Linked DNA regions of Homo sapiens: region 2 is linked to region 1. Evidence: promoter capture Hi-C in 16 types of primary human blood cells and fetal thymus (Javierre and others, 2016). All regions are on one chromosome and are shown on one strand. The core of a region is centred on a gene start or on the middle of the fragment in contact, and the rest is flanking DNA. Distances in the headings are between cores, read along the strand shown.

Region 1 (2,712 bases), core at 76-2,575:
GTAACTACAGTGGAATTTCAGGTACTGTTGAATATTCATTTACTCTACCATTCAATAACTTATGTACCTAATGTGTGATAATGCTTGCCAGGCATCTTCTTAAAACAATACTTTTAACCAAAGAGATGATGGTGAAATTTGAGACCAAGTAACAGATCATTACTGAAAGTTTTTCCCTACGACTTTAAAATCCTCTCTTGTGTCAGCACCCAATCTGTACTCCCAGAGGTGAAAAGGGCCAACTGCAACTCTACCCCAGCAGACAGCCAGAAAACACTCATTGCAGCATTCCTTGTCCCCCACCCCCCCACCCCTTTTGTGGCCTGCTTTGCAAAAGTCAATTAGGTCTGGAAGGGAAGTGGTAATTTCTCTTCAGGAGTTGGAAACATCAGGCCTTACTTCTCTTCCTAGTACCCCTTTCCCACCATGAAAGAATCATACAGAACTTTAGATAACTGTAATCAGAGAATCAGAAATTCTTAGAAACAGGAAAATTTAGAAGATCACAAAATCAAAACTAGAAAGGGTGGTGGAAATTACAGGCCAAGCCTTTTTTTCAGAGAGTGAATGACTTGCCTAGGGTCTCACAGTGAATTAGGATGAGAATAGAAATCTGTTTACTTTCTGTATAGTGACACTACATTCCTCTTCCACTTTCTTCACTTATTTCTGCTAATTATTCATCTCTCAATTCCCCAAATCTCTCCTTACCCAATTCATCATTCCCATCACCCCCACATCCTCTTAGTTTCCCTCCCTAGCTCTTCCCCCACCCCTAGGCTCCCCATGGGCTCTGACCCACTGAGCTCTGCTGTCAGCCCAGCAGGTAGAGGGAGTCAAAGGGAGAGAGGAATGGGGAATTGCAGGAAGAAATATTAAGCCATCGTTCTTGATAGAGAGGAAGAGAGAGACAGAAACACAGAGACGGAGAGATACAAAGCCGAGGAAAGAGACAAAAAGGGGGAGAGAAAGAAATTTAGAGAAAAAGATAGTTAGAATTCAGAGGGAAAAATAAGAGAAAGCAAGAGTGTCAGAGAATGATGAAATGAAATGAATGATCTTGAAAACTAACAAAAGAAAGTAACGAAGGGAAAAAGAGAGAAAAAAGCTGAAAATGAGGAAAGACAGAAAGAGACATGGGAGATAAAAAGAAAATGAAAAAGAGACAGATTCTAAGAAACAAACAAAGGAAAAAGTCAGATCTACTCAGACCAGAGAGTCAGTGTGTACAGCCCTGAGAGACCAGCTGGCAGACCAGAGATAGGGTGCCAGGCTGAAAGCAGCTCTTACCTGTTGCCCTGCACTGAGGACGAACGAATGACAGGTGGGTACTTGGGTTAGGACCTGGCATTTATCCCTTCTCCTCTGACTCAGCCCCACCCACCCTGCCTTCTGCCGGCCTGGCCCTGCATTGGCCCCAAAGGTATCTCAGTCCCTTCCTTGCTAGAGATAAAACCCAAAGTAGCCCCTCCCTCTAGTGTACCCCCTCCCCCAGCTCTGGCTCTTCCCTATTTTCTTCTCTCTATAGGACAGTAAAATTAGCTCATTTGGGCTTTGGAATCAGACCATCCACATAGAGCTGGGATACCTTGAGCAAAACCACCTCTCTGACTATAGATCTCCTCAACTATAAAAGGAGGGCAATAAAACCCAGAAGTGACTGTGGCACAAGTTGGGAGGGCTCTGGAGTCAGACCTAGAATACAGTGTTGTGCTTATGAGCTCAAACAGTCAGCTTCCACAGACTAGATCCCCGGTTGTTGTAACAATTTGGTAATATCATGTATGGAAAACGCATACCACAGTGCCTGGCCCAAATAAATAACACCTACTGTTGACTGAGTGCTTACAATGCACCAGACCCTTCACTAAGTGCTTTACATGAATTAATTTAGCCACATAAGGACCTTAAAAGATAGGTACTATTATCCCTATGTTACAGATGAAGAAACTGAGGCTCAGAGAGGTGAGGTAACTTGTTGATAATTACCCAACTAGAAAGTACAGAGCCCGCCTATGAACCTAGGCAATGTAGTTACAGAACCCACACTCTTCTCTTCCTCTCATAATATACAATTAAAAATGTGAAGTTCTCTGTCTTATCTTTTCTATTACCTTCTCCTCCCTTTTTCATTTTCTTCCCCTTTTGTCACTCTCTTTTTCCCCTTCCCTTATCAATCCTAAGGCAGCAGGACCATGTTATAACCAGACAATTTCATCTTTAGAGCAGATTGTCATCATTAATATTATATTTACATAAATAAGACCATAGTCTACATATTGATTTGCAATTTCTTTTTTTTGTTTGTTTTTCATTCAACCATATGCCAATATACCATGGAGGTTACAAAATCTGAATGCACTGTAATTTATTTAAACACTCCCTTATTGATATAAATTTAGGTTATTCCCAAGGATTTTCCCCCCTCCATTATGATTAATGTTGCAATGAACATCTTTTGGCATTTGTGAGAGCATTTTTTTAGAGGGTGGCATCCTAAAATATAAGCATTCCTGGATCTAAAGGTAATAGACATTTAAAGTTTTTGATACTGCCAATTTGTCCTATACATGTGTTATACACCCCTCCCCACCCAGTGGTGTATAAGAGTAAATGTGTATCTATTTTCTCACAAACTCACCAATACCATTTGTTATTTTCAATTTTTAAAATATTTGTTAATCTTATAGGCACTAAAAATGGTATATCAGT
Region 2 (2,712 bases), core at 134-2,633, 140 kb before region 1:
AACATACTTCAGGATTTTATCCAGGAGAACTTCCCAAACCTGGCAAGATAGGCCAACATTCAAATTCAGGAAATACAGAGAACACCACTAAGATACTCCATGAGAAGACCAACCCCAAGACAGATAATAATCAATTCTCCAAGGTTGAAATGAAGGAAAAAATATTAAGGGCAGCCAGAGAGAAAGTCCAGGTCACTTACAAAGGGAAGCTGATCAGACTAACAGCAGACCTCTCAGCAGAAACCCTGCAAGCCAGAAGAGAGGGGTGGGCAATATTCAATATTCTTAAAGAAAAGAATTTTCAACCCAGAATTTCATATCCAGCCAAACTAAGCTTCATAAGTGAAGGAGAAATAGGATCCCTTTCAGACAAGCAAATACTGAGGGATTTCATCACCACCAGGCCTGCCTTGCAAGAGCACTAAATATGGAAAGGAAAAACCAGTACCAGCCACTGCGAAAAAACACCAAAATATACACTTGATCTTAGCCAAAAGGCTGAGAAGCAATAAACACACCAAAATATAAAGACCAACGACACTATGAAGAAACTGCATCAATTAGTGTGCAAAATAACCATATAGCATCAAGATGACAGGATCAAACTCACACATAACAATATTAACCTTAAATTTACATGAGCTAAAAGCCCCAATTAAAAGACACAGATTGGCAAATTGGATAAAGAGTCAAGACCCATCAATGTGCTGTATTCAGGAGATGTGCAAAGACACACATAGGCTCAAAATAAAGGAATGGAGGAAAATTTACCAAGCAAATGGAAATAAAAAAAAAGCAGGGGTTGCAATCCTAGTCTCTGATAAAACAAACTTGAAACCAACAAAGATAAAAAAAGAGAAGGGCATTACATAATGGTAAAGGGGTCAATTCAACAAAAAAAGCTAATTATCCTAAATATATATCCACCCAATACAGGAGCACCAAGATTAATAAAACAAGTTCTTAGAGATCTACAAAGAGACTTAGACTCACACACAATAATAGTGGGAGACTAACACCCCACTGTCAATATTAGACAGATCAACAAGACAGAAAATTAACAAAGATATCCAGGACATGAACTCAGCTCTGAATCAAGTGGACCTAATAGATATCTACAGAATTCTCCACCCCAAATTAACAGAATATACATTCTTTTCAGTGCCACATGGCACTTATTCTAAAATCAACCACATAATTGAAAGAAAAACACTCCTCAACAATTGCAAAAGAACTGAAATAATAACACACTGTCTCTCAGACCACAGTGCAATCAAATTAGAACTCAGATTAAGAAATTCACTCAAAACCGCACAACTACATGAAAATTGAACAACCTGCTTCTGAATGACTCCTGGGTAAATAATGAAATTAATGCAGAAATAACGAAGTTCTTTGAAACCATTGAGAACAAAGAGACAACATACCAGAATCTGTGGGATGAAGCTAAAGCAGTGTTAAGAGGGAAATTTAAAGCACTAAATGCCCACATCAGAAAGCTCGAAAGATCTCAAATCAAAATCCTAACATCACAACTAAAAGAACTAGAGGAGCAAGAGCAAACAAATCCAAAGCTAGCAGAAGACAAGAAATAACTAAGATCAGAGCAGAACTGAAGGAGAGAGAGACATGAAAAACCCTTCAAAAAATCAATGGCTTGGAACCAACCCAAATGCCCATCAATGATAGACTGTATAAAGAAAATGTGCCACATATACACCATGGAATACTATGCAGCCATAAAAAGAAATGAGATTATGTCCTTTGCAGGGACATGGATGAAGCTGGAAGCCGTCATTCTCAGCAAACCAACACAGGAAGAGAAAACCAAATTCCTTATGTTCTCTCTCATAAATGGGAGTTGAACAATGAGAACACATGGACTCAGGAAGGGGAACAACACTCACCAGGGCCTATTGGTGGGTGGGAGGCGAGGGGAGGGAACCTCGATGACTGGTTAATAGGTGCAGGAAACCATCATGGCACACGTATACCTATGTAACAAACCTGCAGGTTCTGCACATGTATCCCGGCACTTAAAGTTAAAAAAAAAAAAGAAAGGAATACTAACAATTTTAATTCTTATTTCAAAATAGAGCATGTCTAGTAAAAAAATTATTAATGACATAAAATAATTGACTAAAACATTTACAAATTGAGTATATATGTGTGTATAGGTAAATCTACACACACATATGTAAATATATACACACATTTTTTCCATAGATCCATAAAACATGCCATAGAGCAATCATTGAGCTTTCATAATCTGTGTCTGCCTTTTGCTTTGTAGTTTGGAGACCCTAAGATTAGTCACACGTAGATTCATATGTTTGATCAGCTAAGTTTTTGAGAAGGGACGTATGTGAAAAAAAATCAGTAGTAAATTGGTCTAGGTAACACGTAGACATCTGTACGTGGATTATTGGAACTTAAGCTTATTGGAACACAAAGAAAGAAGAGGTTATTTCTACTTGTGTTGAGAAAGATGGAGAGACAGAAAAGGCTTCATAGAGAAATGGTTACTTGGGTTGAGATAACACACAAATGAGACCTAATATCCATTAAATCGACAAGGTTCAGGGAAGGATGGTTCTGGTTAGAAGAGATGGCATGTGTAGAAGTATACAACATACATAGGGACATGATACAGCATGGCATAGAGGGAGAAAGCATTTCTTCACTCCAAACTAATGAGAGCCTCCCCTTTAG

What was found. The method cuts DNA at HindIII sites, captures the fragments that hold promoters and counts their contacts. A CHiCAGO score of 5 or more calls a contact.
Region 2: a contact is called between a fragment that was not itself captured here and the fragment with the promoter of ALAS2 in region 1, in 1 of 17 cell types (M2 macrophages). The highest score is 6.9, in M2 macrophages.

What each region holds. Positions count from the first base shown.
Region 1 is chrX:55,029,652-55,032,363 of GRCh38, forward strand. It overlaps ALAS2 (5'-aminolevulinate synthase 2), which reads right to left and starts at 1,326. Exons shown (of 11, transcript NM_000032.5): 1 at 1,291-1,326. It also overlaps a transcript of PAGE2B not described here. RefSeq lists an enhancer at 1-1,331. The HindIII fragment of the contact is 13,021 bases long and covers 1-2,712 here.
Region 2 is chrX:54,889,051-54,891,762 of GRCh38, forward strand. No RefSeq gene overlaps it. Among named protein-coding and RNA genes, the nearest start is that of TRO, 30 kb to the right of the region's middle. The HindIII fragment of the contact is 2,103 bases long and covers 333-2,435 here.